Linked DNA regions of Homo sapiens: region 1 is linked to region 2. The links are contacts of gene promoters, found by promoter capture Hi-C in blood cells and fetal thymus (Javierre and others, 2016). All regions are on one chromosome and are shown on one strand. Each heading gives the region's core, a stretch centred on a gene start or on the middle of the fragment in contact. The rest is flanking DNA. Distances are from core to core; before and after follow the strand shown.

What was found. Contacts are between HindIII fragments. The CHiCAGO score rates a contact against its expected background, and 5 or more counts as called.
Region 1: a contact is called between the fragment with the promoter of FECH here and the fragment with the promoter of SEC11C in region 2, in 2 of 17 cell types (non-activated CD4 T cells and naive CD8 T cells). The highest score is 5.9, in non-activated CD4 T cells.

Annotation. Positions count from the first base shown.
Region 1 is chr18:57,583,887-57,591,392 of GRCh38, forward strand. FECH (ferrochelatase) reads right to left here and starts at 2,816. Exons shown (of 11, transcript NM_000140.5): 1 at 2,668-2,816. The coding sequence starts at 2,734. RefSeq lists silencers at 2,508-2,557, 2,568-2,627, 2,638-2,997. The HindIII fragment of the contact is 11,690 bases long and covers 1,239-7,506 here.
Region 2 is chr18:59,136,775-59,143,448 of GRCh38, forward strand. It overlaps SEC11C (SEC11 homolog C, signal peptidase complex subunit), which reads left to right and starts at 3,110. Exons shown (of 6, transcript NM_033280.4): 1 at 3,110-3,261. The coding sequence starts at 3,175. RefSeq lists silencers at 2,540-2,589, 3,010-3,149 and enhancers at 2,700-2,789, 2,870-2,969, 4,885-4,934, 5,753-5,852. The HindIII fragment of the contact is 2,684 bases long and covers 2,198-4,881 here.

The sequences.
Region 1 (7,506 bases), core at 1,566-4,065, 1.6 Mb before region 2:
GAAAACGAAACTTCACCGGGCACAGTGGCTCATGCCTGTAATCCTAGCACTTTGGGAGGCCGAGGCGGGCAGATCACAGGTCAGGAGATAGAGATCATCCTGGCTAACACAGTGAAACCCATCTCTACTAAAAACACAAAAAAATTAGCCGGGTGTGGTGGCACCTGCCTGTAGTCCCAGCTACTTGGGAGGCTGAGGCAGGATAATCCCTTGAACCTGGGAGGCGGAGGTTGCAGTGAGCCGAGATCATGCCACTGCACTCCAGCCTGTCGACAGAGCGAGACTCCGTCTCAAAAAAAAAAAAAAAAGAAAACAAAACTTCATAACTCCTGCAGTGGTGGACACCTGTAGTCCCAACTACTTGGAAGACTGAGGCAGGAGGCTCACTTGAGCTCAGGAGTTCAAGACCAGCCTAGGCAACAGAGTGAGACTCGGTCTCAAAAAAAAAAAAAAAAAAAACTCTCAAAAAACAAACTTCATAATTCCTGGACAAATCCAATAGGTGATCATTCAGAAGTATACCTATGACTTAAGAAGTTCCTAAGTTATGACTTCATGTTGTTGCAAAAAGAAATAAAGAAAAAGGAAAAACAGAAAAAAAAGTTCTTAAGTATCAACTGGTTCTTCAAAACCAAATTAATATTTTGGATCCTTGTGGGCGAGGCAGAAGAGGGTGGGGGGCGAGATACACAAGTATTGAAATCTATAATGGCACTTTTCTATCACATAGGAGATGAGGATTACTTCAAAAGTACTTATAAAATATGCACCGTTTTTAAAATTAACAAAAGAAATAAGGTTCTATATTATAACTATTAATAAACATAGTGGGTGCTTCAAAATATTGGTTAGTTGCTGATATGGAGCCAAAATGTTCTAATGTCTCTTATGTAAACCCTACAACTCTTTTATTATCCTAGAATTGTTTTTCTAATTACATAAGACAATATATGCTCAGTGAAAAAAAATGTTTGGGGGGCCAGGCACACTAGATCATGCCTGTAATCCCAGCTACCAGGGAGGCTGAGGCGGGAGGATCACTTGATCCCAGGATTTCAAGGCTGCAGTGAACTATGATGGCACCACCGTACACCAGCCTGAGCGACAGAGCAACACTCCATCTCTTAAAAAAACAAAAGAAACAAAACGTTTAAAGTTTGGAAAGAAAAAGGCACCAAGAAAAAAAATAATTCATATAGATAGCTAAACAGACAGATAATATATGGCCCACCCCCGGAAGCTTCTTATTAATTCTGTAATATGCTAAATACATAAAGTATAAAACTTTGCTTTTCCACTTTTACTTTCAGAACTCATTTTCGGAAATAATCCTCAGTGTTTTCTCACACAGAAGTTGATCTTTTCCTATCAACCAAAATGATGAAGTATTATAACTATGCCTTCAAATCAAAGTCTGTAACACAAATAAGACTCCAAATCTACTTCTGCTAGCGTTTCTGAATCTTTCCACTTTTAACCTAGACTACAAATAATTTAAAGTTTCACATATTGTTCCACGACCTCAAATCTAGGACCTGTCAGACTTTATTTGCCACAGGAAAGGTCAGTGAAAGAAAAGATTAGTTCAATACTTCTTTCAGCCCCACGACTGGCACTGTGCTGCCTCTTCTTAAAAAACAATGCCCTTTGTCCCCCAGCGCCCTTAGTGAGCTAGCCTCATTGTACACTGGGTCCTTAGTATTTTCCTAACAAAGGCACGTCTAATGAGATATGGAGGTTCAGAGGGGATTCCCTCCACTCCAAGTAGGTGTCAGACTGACGAACGTCTTAGAAAAATATGTCCGGTCTGTGTCCAGTCACCGTTCGGATGCATTGAATAAGCATCTTATTCGTGGCAGCCTTCTGCATGAATGGCTAGACATCTTGAGGATGCCTGTGTACTACTGTGTGCCAGGCAAGGTGCTCATGTTCAAGGCAAGCCTTAAAAAAAAAATTAGGATTTCAATGTACATTTACCAAAGCTCTGGCGAGGTTAGGTGCCTTGTTCAAGGTGTCACAGTTGGAAATGCTGTCCCAGCCAGGTGTGTGAGATCCACAGTCCCATCAGCTCATCCTGTGGTCACAACCTATTCACGGTTTGCATCAGAAACGTGGGAGGCTGTTCCTGGGTCTTACAAGTTCCCCAGATATCTCTAGAAAACGCTAGCCCAGGCTGCCCCACGGGGGGTCCCGCTGCTAAGGAGAAGTGGGCACAGAGGGACCAAGGACCATGGGCTTTCCTCAGCAGGGAGGGAACTGCAGGGCAGATGTCCATGGTGGTGATGATGAAGATGCCTTCCTTACTATCCTCTATGGCAGGCCCATAACATACCTTCCCTCGCGTAATCTTCTCAACAGCCTGGTTATTGCAGGTGACAATAACCAAGGCTCTGGGAAATTCCAGCCACTGCTCCAAGCCACCCAGCCGACCGATGGGACTTGAACCTGCGCCTCCTGGATCCGGGCGCCCTCCCCGCGGCCTCCCGAGCCCTGAGTGCTGCCCTCAGCCCTCCCTTCTCCGCGACGCCCCTCGCCCGGTTGCTCGCAGCACCCCCAAGGCCGCTCCCCGAATCCCCCGGGCGCGAGGGCCCGGGCGCCAGCTGCCCGCTCTGCCCACGCCTTCTCAGGGATCCTGGCCCTGGCGGCCGCCGCGACAGACCCACTTACGCGGATCGCGGAGCAGGACGCCCGCGGCGCGCAGGGCCGCAGCCATGTTTGCGCCGAGTGAACGCATTGCCTGGGCAGCCTCGGCCCGAGTCCGGGCTCCTCCCGCGGCGGCGCGCCCAGGTGTCCGCCCAGCAGTGGCCGAGCCGGGTAGCGATCCCCACGCGCGTCCCCAGCCCCCTGACCTCGCGCCCTCCCGGCGCGCCCGCTCATTCGCTGCCGGGCCGGGGCGGGCGAGGCCAGGCAGAGACACGCCCCTCGCGGAGAGCCCGCCCCAGCTGGGCGCCGCTCCCTGCGTGAAAATGGGCCCGGGGGCTGAGCTAGAAGCCCGCTCCCCACCACCATCGCAGGTCACTGCAAAACCTGCTGGACTCCTAGTTGCGTGCCCTGTTTGCATCTGCCAAACTAGCGAAGTCAGGATCCTCAGCCATGACTCAGCAAATAACTTTTTTCGACGTTTCCATTACTATTATTTAGATATAAGGATGCTTTTGCCTCAGTTCTCCAGTTTGCCTGCCTAGTCACAACACAAGTGTGCAGATCCTGTTTTGTTTTGCTTTATTTTCAGAATAGAAAAAGGGATTATTCAGTTTCTCTGCACCCTCTCTGTGTAGCAGAATTTGACAGGTGAAACTCACTGAAGAGCATTAGGAAAAGTGAAGGCCAGCCTGGCAAGTGCATTTCTTGGAGGGACGGTATGATGAGGTTTGTCTGTATCATATCCGCGCACCTTCCCAGTTTAGCCGCCCGTCCCGCCCCCAAGGTCGCACACTGAGATCACTGGGAGGAACAGGCGCCCATTTCATTCCTACACCTCCGTCAGCCCACCCTGCCTATATATGTTCAGTGCATTGTGGAGTAGGAAACCAGCCCTTGGTACAGAAAGGTCTCAGGCATCGGTATTCATTGAACAAATATTGAGCACCTACTATGTGCACTGGGAAAACAGTAGTGAAAAGAGTAGACGGGGGCTTACATGGGGTTAGGGGAGACACAGAAAATAATCACAACATGTAATACTTTGAATGATGGAGCCCTTCCACGGCCTCCCCTCTTCTTTTTCCCTCTCAGGACAAAAGAAGAATGAAGCAAGGTAAAAGAGATGGGGTAGGGTGGGGGAAGGGACTAATGCAATTTGAAGCAGGTGGGTCAGAGTCTCACACATTCGAGCAAAGGCCTTATACACATTTGAGCAAAGGGGGCAAGCCATATGGAACATTCAGGGAAGATGGAGTCTAGATTCAGCTGAAACCCAGTTTTCTGTAGCTTAAATATGTGCTACTGATGGAATTAGTTTATTTCTTATTAAAGTTGGTCCTCCTGATGGTTATAAGCCCAATGCAAAATGTCAAATTAAATGGATAGCCTTTCATATTACCTACATGATCTTCATATCCAAGCGGATGTCCTGAGAAAAGCACAGTAAAACCTGCTCCAGGTATCAACCCACCTTCCTTATATGTGTGGCTATTCTCTACCCTCATAAAAAAATTATAGTCTTCTTAAGTTGCCCTGTAAAGAGGTGATCTTCATGGATAACATACTTCTCTACCTACAGTCTGAACCCATTTTTGTTGTTGTTGTTGTTATTTGTTTGTTTTGTATTTCCAGTAGATACAGAGTTTTGCCATGTTGGCCAGACTGGTCTCGAACTTCTGACCTCAAGTGGTCCACCCACCTCGGCCTCCCAAAGTGCTGGGATTACAGGCGTGAGTCACCATGCGCGGCCTGAGCCCATTTCTTCTAAAGAAACTAAATTGAAAGGCTGCACACCTCGCAATGCTGTGCTGGCAGACATGTAGACAAGGCCAGAGAATAAAATGGCCGGGGGGGTTAGACGTCTGAGCTATGAAGGCTCTTCTTGTCCCCTCTGGGAGGCCCTGGAGAAAGTCATCCCCTCCATCCAGGGTGCTGGGCCCTCCTGCTGGGTAGAGATAAGGGGGCTTCTGGTCCCTCCCAGGCAAACGCTGATGATTAGTGACAAGGCATAAAGGTGCCAAGTCTCACCAGTACAAAATCAATGGCTGGCGTGGGTTAAATTTCTGTCCAGAAATGATTATGGAACTAGCAAGACATACTTTATTAAATATTTTAATGAATCAGCATCATTTCATTTCTTTTATTCGCATCTTGCACTTTCATTTTTACTGACTTCTTTTTTTATTTTTTATTTTTTCATTAATTAATTAATTTTTTTTGTTTTTTTTTTTTTTAGAGGGAGTCTCACCCTGTTGCCCAGGCTGGAGTGCAATGGCACGATCTCGGCTCACTGCAACCTCCGCCTACTGGGTTCAAGTGATTCTCCTGCCTCAGTCTCCCGAGTAGCTGGGATTACAGGTGCTTTACTGACTTTTAAAAACTCATTCAAAATTCCTCATGTATAAAACCTCCTGGTGCACATATTAAGAACTCATGGGTTATAACTGAAAACAGAACTTCATTCTTTTTCCCCAACAGAGAGTACCATAACAATTGTTATTCCTAATCTATGGCTTATTTCTTACAAACATTGAATATAACAGCTTTCCAATGAGTAAATTTTTATGTTCTTATGCAGTGAAAGCAGATAAAATGTGCTTTATGTTGGTCCTTTTCAAAACTGGTAGAAAACACAGTCCTTAATCCAGAAATTGTGAACTCTAAATACAGGCTTACCAGAAAAGCCCTTGAAAGGCTAAAGAAATTTGCGGAACCATATGATATACATAATATGAATTTTTTCTGACTTAACATATTTTTAACAAAATGACACACCAATTCCATTAGCAAACAGAAGGCTAAAAAGGCACAGTGTGTGGGCTAACGGAGATAAGGAGCACCCCAACCAGGAGGGAGAGGGTTTGTCTGGGGCCTGGTGAGTTCATTAGTGAATAAAGCACTCACCTGTCACAGACACCACTCTGAGTGCAGCCTGTGATCCTAAATAAAATGAATTTGTTGGTTTCAGCTCAGTGCTTCAGGGAAAGGGGTGGGAAATCTCTTCATTCATTATTTGCCATGATTGGCACCTCTGAGCTACACAAACTAAATTTAGATTATTCAACTCTGATTCCTTAATCAGAAAAATAACTGGGGAAGGGAGGAATCAGGAGGCATTCAGGGCAAGAGAAACAGTGGCTGCATGTAACAAATGGTAAGCTATAATGATTACTCAGAGAAATCTGATCAATTGTCCCTAGAATCATTTTACAACAAAGAGGCCACCAAATCCAGGCCAACATGCCATGCGTTTTGACTTGCCCCTCTTCACCACGCAGAGCCTTCAGCCCAATGGTGGTGACGGGTTTATTAATCCATCTGCCCATATTTCCTGACCATCTACCATGAGCAAAACATTAGGTCATGTAGAGGATAAAAGAGTGAAAAGGAAAACAAACAACATTCTCAAACAGCTCATTCGCTTATGAAACAAGCGTATGGGAGACTCCAGTCTATGTCAGGCACATGGCAGGCACTGGGTGTGCAGCAATGAACCGGACAGTCCCTAATTTCACGGAACGTACCTTCTAGAAGGCAAGGCAGACAATCGTTTTACAACAAAGATGAAAGACATACAACATATTGTCAGGTATGGCTAGGGACCAGAAGAAAGCTAAAGGAGGTGGAGGAAGGGAGAGAGGCCGCAACTGCCCAGGTCAGTAGTGCAGTCAGGACCAGCCTCTCTGCAAAGGTGGCATTTCAGCAGTGACCTGAAGGGAGTGAGGGCGTTGTCCGGGGAAGGGCTTGCAAGCAGAGAGGCCAGCAAGCGCTGGAACACATTTGAGGCTTGTATTCATTTCCTAGGGCTGCTGGAACAAAATACCACAAACCAGGCAGGCAAATGTGTTGTCGTCCAGTTTTGAAGGCTAGAAATGCAAAATCAGGGTGTCAGCAGGGCTGTGCTCCCTCTGAAACCTGTAAGGGAGAATCCTTCCTTGCCTTTTTTAGCTCATGGCGGTGGCAACAATCCTTGGCGTTCCTCAGCTTGTAGATGCAGCACTCCATCCTCTGCCTCCACAGTCACAGCCTGTCTTCTCCTCTTGGAAGGACGCCAGTCATTTTGGATTAAAGGCCTACTCTAATAACCTCATCTTAACCTGACTGCGTCTGCAAAGACCCTGTTTCCAAATAAGTTCATGTTTACAGGTACCTGGGGGCTAGGATGTCAACATGTCTGTTGGGGGAACACAACTCAGCCCCATAACAAGGCTGTCAAAGAACAGCAGGGAGGCCACATGGCTTGAGTAGGGGGGCGGCGAGAGGTAGGGGAACCAGGGCGGATTGATGTAGAACTTTGTAGGTAATGAAAAACTGTGTCTTCTGAGTGACCTCCATTCTTCACTTATACTGCATGACTAAATGTGCCCATTGTGGCTGGGTGCCGTGGCTCACGCCTGTAATCCCAGCACTTTGGGAGGCTGAGGCGGGCAGATCACCTGAGGTCGGGAGTTTGAGGCCAGCCTGAGCAACACAGAGAAACCCGTCTCTACTAAAAATACAAAATTAGCCGGGCATGGTGGCACATGCCTGTAAACCAGCTACTGAGGAGGCTGAGACAGGAGAATCGCTTGAACCTGGGAGGCGGAGGTTGTGGTAGGCCAAGATTGCACTGTTGCACTGCAGCCTGGGCGACATGAGCGAAACTCCATCTAAAAAAAAAAAAGTGCCCATTGTGATTTTTTTTTTTTTTTTTTTTAGCTCATTCATACTGGGTGTTTTTTCCAGGGTTCTCTGCTTCCTGGGTGGTGGAAGGGTCCCTAAGAGGCCTTTCTGATTTGCTTCTTCCAGGACCCAGGGGTCCCACCAGTCTTAGACCAAGTTTGTGTGAATATCTCAACTTGGTTGTCCTGTTCCCTGCAGTTG
Region 2 (6,674 bases), core at 1,860-4,359:
GGTTACATGAATGAGTTCTTTAGTGGTGAATTCTGAGATCTTAGTGTACTCATCACCTGAGCACTATATGCTGTATCCAAAATGTTTAGGCATTATTTTTTTGGAGTAGTTTTAGGTTTACAGCAAAAATGAGTGGAAAGTATAGAGATATACCCATCTACTCCTGCCCCCACACATGCACAGCCTCCTCCACTATCAACTTCCCCTGCCAGAGTAGTACATTTGTTACAATTGGTGAATCTACACTGACACATCCTTATCACCCAAAGTCCACGGGTTACATCAGGGTTCACTTTGGGGTTGTACAGTCTATGTTTTGACAAATATATAATGATATGTACTCATCATTATAGTATCATACTCTCCCCCCTACCCCCGGCAACCACTGATCATTTTACTGTCTCCATAGTCTTGCCTCTAGAGTTCACGGGAAGGAGTACTTCACTGGGGAAGAGGCCACCAGTGACAGAACAAATGAAGTGAACATTCTAGTTCTCTTAATTACTTATGTCCTGGATTAAGAAAAAAATATTAATAGTAGCCATAATTCCTCCTACTGGTTCTGAGAGTCTATTTTGAGTCAGATGGGAGGTTTTTTTTGCATATTATTAATACCTCACTTGACTCTCACAACATCTCTTGCCTTTTTCAGTATGCCATGTAGTTGGGATCATACAGTATGTTGCCATTTCAGATAGACTTCTTTCACTTAGTAATATGCAGTTAAGCTTCCCTCCTGTCTTTTCATGGCTTGATATTACATTTCTTTTTTGCACTGAATAGCATTTTATTGTCTGGATATCCTGCAGTTTATTTATCCATTCACCCACTAAAGGACATCTTGGTTGCTTCCAAGTGTTGACAATTATGAATAAAGATGCTAAAAACATCCGTGTACGGGTTTTTGTGTGGACATCCGTTTTCAAGCTGGTATTTGGGTAAATACCAAGGAGTGCAATTGCTGCATCATATGGTGAGAGGATGCTTAGTTTTGGAAGAAATTGCCAAACTGTCTTCCAAAGTGGCTGTAACAAATACGGTTTTTATTTGGTGGATGAGCAAAGGGTTCATGGAGGTGAATAAATTAGTCTAAGACTGGACAATATGCAGGGACTTCTACCCAATGTCTTCCTGTGTTGCTTCTCACCCAATGCTCAACCTAAGCAGGAGCCTGGAGGCTGGGCCAAAGGTTCTGATGTGAAGATATCACACTGGGTTCTAGGTTTATTGGTCACATTTTGGACCCTTACTCTATTCCCACAAACCTGTTCCACCCACAGCTTTCCTCATTGAAGTTGAGGGGAACTCTACCCTTCTAGTTCCATAGGTTAAAAACCCTGGAGTCAGCCTCAATCTCTTTTCTTCTTTCACGCCCTATATTTATTCTTTCAAAAAATCCTGAAGACTCTTTCTTCAAAATGTATCCAGATTCTGAACCTTTAGTGCTGCCACCTTAGTTCCAGCAATTATTAGTGGCAGGGTTAACTATCACCATATCTTCCTATGTACTAAGCACTGTGTCTTGCACTTATAATTTTATACATCTGATATTTGGAAGAATTTTACACAGACTAGCTTCTGGATCTGTACATTTCAAACCTTGTTTTTCCTCTCCATCCACTTATTTCCAAGGTCAAGTGCTGCAGAACACTTTCATATCAGATGCCACTTCCAGTGGGACTTCCTGCCACGGTGCCAGGTGAGTTGGCCCAGTGGATGGCAGTATTCCCAGAAGCCATTTTTTACACGAGGATGGCAGGAAAGACCATGAACCACATAAATAAATTCACTAAACTCAAACCAAATGTATCTCCAACTCGTTTCCTCCTTAGCTGGATCCCCAAAATTCTCCTTGTCCCTCCAACAGGAGGGGAAATGTAATGGAGGTGAAGTTGGAATGCAAAGAAACAGAACTCTTAACCAATAGCAATTGCAATATCTTGCTTTTGAAAGTTTTACACATTCTATGGTTAAGTTTCTCCCACACCTTGGAAAAACACCTTTGCAATTGAAGGGTCCCAGAACTTACCTTTCATTAGCTTCATGGTAAGTCAGCTTCTGGTATATTTTAAATTGCAACCTGATCCTTTCCCCCAGACCTCCCCATTCAACTTATCTGCTTTTCCTGTTGTCATAGCACCTCCATCCTTTAGGTACCGTATAAATTATCCATTATGTCTGCCTTCGGTAGAATATAAGCTTCATGAGGGCAAGAATCTTTGCTTGTTTTGTTAACTGATGTTTCTCAAGTGCCTAGAACAAGGCCAGGTGCATGGTAGGTGCTCCATAAAGATTTGTGGATAAATAAATACAATAAAGAATGCATAATGCATACACGAGTGAGTGAATGAACCAAAGGTAATCTAGGATCAGAACTGTGATGATCTAGGACTTCTAAATTTAAAACTTTGAGTTATATTCCACTCATTTCCACTTAACCTTGGCCATGTCAATGAACCTTTCTGGGCCTTTGCTTTCTCGTGTATGAAATTAGGTGGTTATGTATTCATTTAATTAATATCTATTGCAACCCAATTATGGTCAAGGCATTCAAAGATACTTCCTTGCATACAAGTGGTACCACTCAAAATGCAGAATTCAGCGGCCTCAAAAGTCCCGCCTCTTCCAAGCCCCGCCCACCGCAGTCCATCTTTAGGCCCCGCCCCAATTCGGCTCAGCCCGCCCCAGCGTAGAGGCACCACCTTTCCTCGCTGCAGTCATCCAATAGCCAAGATACACGGCTAGGTGATTTGCGAGCGGGAGTTAGGTGTCCTCTTGGCGCCTGACCAGAGTCGGGAAATTCAGCTCCTCTTGAGTAGTCCCTTCCCCGAGTTGCCCCCCGAGGTATGCGGGGTCACTCGCTGCTCGATGTTCCCTCCGAAGGGTCGGACAAGGCTCCGGAGCCCTGTAGCTGCCCTCCCTAGGAGCCCCGGGTCTTCACTGGCCGAGGTGCCCACCCCGCAGCATTCTGGGAGTGGTAGTTTTCTTCCTTCAGGTTCATTCCTGGCTGGCCAGTGCCCAAGACTGGCGAGACTACGATTCCCAGACGCCCAAGCGAGTCGCCGGTCACGTGGCCGCAAGGACGCTGGGCCGGTGGGCGGGGGCCGGCAGGTGCTCCGCAGCCGTCTGTGCCACCCAGAGCCGGCGGGCCGCTAGGTCCCCGGAGACCCTGCTATGGTGCGTGCGGGCGCCGTGGGGGCTCATCTCCCCGCGTCCGGCTTGGATATCTTCGGGGACCTGAAGAAGATGAACAAGCGCCAGGTGACGGAGGAGGGTGGTGAGCGCGCCGTGGCCGGGACCGCCTGTGCTAGCGGGGAGTCGGGGCTTCCCAGTCAGGGCTCCGGCTCCCAGTGAATGCGGCCGGGCGGCCACCCGAAGCTCCCGCGCTGGGCTCTCAGGCCCTGGGTTCTACGCCTACGTGTGGGCATGGGTGTGCACTTCCTTGCCCTGACAAGAGCACAATTAGGGGAGGGTGCAGGAAAGGGGAGAATAGAAACCCCGTGCCATGGAATGTCAAATGTGGTTGAGAATGCCACAGCCACGCTTGTGGGAGAGATGACTCGGTGAACGACAGCTCTCTGAGCGTATTTGAAGGGCCACCCGGTGAAGAGGGAACCGATTTCTCTGTGGGGCTTCAGAGGCCTGACTGCCGGCAGGTGGAAGAGGCAGAAAGGCAGGCGAGAGGGAAGAACTTTCCTACAACGGGAGCTGTCCAGCGATGCCTCCCAAAGCAGTTTCTTCCCAGCCTGGGCAGTTGTTTTTCCCCTGACCGTGGGTCGGGACTAAATAATGCTCCTTGTGCCTAGAGAGCTCACAAGCTGTGCGCAATCATTGTGGACTCAACCAGTGTTCCCAGCGAGATTCCAGAAGCCTTCTCTAACTTCTGAGATGGCTGCACTCTGAATATAGGAGGCAGTGTAGGGTCTTTGGGCAGCTGGGGTGGTTGAATTCCCTCTCCTTTGTGAGAGGACCTCAGAGGAAAACGTTCCTCTTGCTCTCTTTTTAGCCACTTATTGGCCATCATCACTGTCTTTGGGGCCTTATCTCTTCACTATAAGGTTAAGAGTGAGTAGGGATTGGAAAGGAAGCCCTCTCAGTCAGGAAAAATACGACTATGTAGGCTTCTAGGTAGAGAATTTGGGGGACCTGTAGGACCTGAATATCACGGTGGATACTAATGCCACTATTGCTACTAATAAATTGTGCTAAGAAAAATGGGACCTTCCAACCAGGGAGTTTTGATTGTCTTTGAAAATGGTATTAATCCTCATTATTTTGATGGCATCCAGTTTCATTTGCTCCATCATGTTGAGATGTGGGGTGGTGCCCATGGGAGGTCACAGCTTACTCCTTTAGGCATACGTGTTTTTCCCCTCTCACTCTCCTCCCCCTTCCCCAAGTAGAATTTCAGACTAGTGCAGTAGTGTGGGAAAGTTTGATAATTTCTATTTCATCAACCGTGTTTAGGATGTGGTAGTGTCTAGGTGTGCAAAGCTGATGACTCCTGTTTCTGGAAGATGAGTTGTAGTAGAGATTATCACCAGCTTAAAAAAGTAACTGCTAATGTCCTGAGCATTGATGCTGTTCACAAGAATATCCTCCAGGAAGCAGAGCTTTGTTTAAAAATCTAGACTTAATGGCTGGGTTTTTAAAGTGTCTCTAAAATTGGTACTGATTACTGATGGCTATAATTGCAGACTGTCAGAAAAGGCCCTCTGATGAGTGTATTGATCCCTAAACCAGTTTGCCCTTTGAAAGATCAGTGTGTTTTTGCTCTCAGCGATAAGGCCTGCCAGTAGCTGGCTGTATTGCCTGTTTTGCTAGTCTTCTAATTAAAATTCAGCAAGCTCAAATCTACTGCTTCTTGGTACTTTTTAAAAAAGCTTTGTCTTTTTTTTTTTTTCTCTTCTTCCCTCCAAAATAGCATCTTATGACACTTTGTCAGGCCTGCATGCTCCACCAGTCTTGAAAGCAGGACCTTCTTTCTCTGCTGCCCCTGCTTACTATTAAAGCAGGACCCACATGCAACACAAGGGCTCTTTGTTTCTGCAGTGAGGAAGAGAGGAAGAAATACAGCTACTGGCAGTGCTGCTGCTGTCAGCCAGAATATTTGATCTGAAATGTTTGCTTAAAACTCTTAGACATTGGCTGTTTCATCATTGGTTGACAATGACTGAGTATGGACTTAGTTCTACACTCTGCTGTGAGCATTAAGTGCTGAGCATACAAAGTTGGTAGGCAAAGGTGAACAACAACAAAAGCACCTGTGAAACATGGTGGTGGTTTTTTTTTTCCAGACCGCAGTCAGCTTGTCAGTAGTTCAATCAAAATTACTTTTCTGGATTCCAGGATTTTATGCCTAGAATCTGATTCGTAGGTTTCTTAAAGTTAAGGTGTTAAAAGTGTGATCTGTGGTTTCTTAGTTTGATTTTTATATTTTTGTGTATTTGGACATTTCCTTAGCAGGTAGATGGCTTGCTCAAAGGAAGTTTTTTTGAGGAATTGATTTTGCTTTCCCTTAATGAACTTTTCAAGCATGGGAAATTATACTGGAAAATATATTCTTGGTACAAGTTCTTTACTGGCTAAGTGGCAAGATTTTATCGGGGTGGAGCCAGATGACTTGAAAACTTGTCTGAAAACGGCAATCGTTGTTTAAAACCATGGTTTGGGGCTTTCCTCATCAGATCTGTAATTCATAATGAAACAGCGGTTATTTATCAAATCCTTTAAGTCAGGCAGAGCCGGTGGGGAGGTTTTTGAATGTAAATTCCAGTGAACAGCTTCTGCTTTAGAGTGACGTGACTTGTAAGGCTGATTTTACTTTAGAAGCAGTGTTTTGTTGTTGTTGTTGGAATCTCAATATTTATTGAATGAAGACATGAATGTTTTATCTCTTCTAACGGCTCACTTCTTTGCATTCTTAAGTATTTGCTTTGTGATCTTTGATTTTTTCCGTTATGCTCTTTGAGCTTATGGTGAAATGGTGTAAAGGCTTTGATTGTTTCATGGCAACTTTCTGGTAAATATTCTTCATTTGATGAGGGATAAAAGACTACATATTGGGTACAGTGTACACTGCTCCGGTGACAGCTGCACTAAAATCTTAGAAATCACCACTAAAGAACTTAATCCATGGAACCAGAAGAAGCAATGGTTTAACATATTATAGCCCAACACTTTGTCAATGTCTGCTTAGCACTCCAGTTTCCTTTTTCACTCTCCTGGGAATATAGTGATAGTTTCATAATTTGCTATTGACACAGTAGCCAAGTCGCTTTTAAAAATGGTGTGTAGGCTGAGTGCAGTGGCTCACGCTTGTAATCCTAGCACTTTGGGAGGCCGAGGCGGGCAGATCATTTGAGGTCAGGAGTTCAAAACCAGCCTGGCCAACATGGTGAAGCCCCGTCTCTACTAAAAATATAAAAATTAGCCGGGTGTGGTGGTGCACACCTGTTATCCCAGCTACTCGGCAGGCTGAGGCAGGAGAATCACTTGAGCCAAGGAGGCGGAGGTTGTAGTGAGCAGAGATCGCGCCATTGCACTCCAGTTTGGGCAACAGAGTGAGACTCCATTTCAAAAAAAAAAAAAAAAAAAAAAAGTGTGTAACTTTAATGTTGAATTATATTTATTTTCCTATTTTGATTTATTGCACCAAAATACATTAACAATTA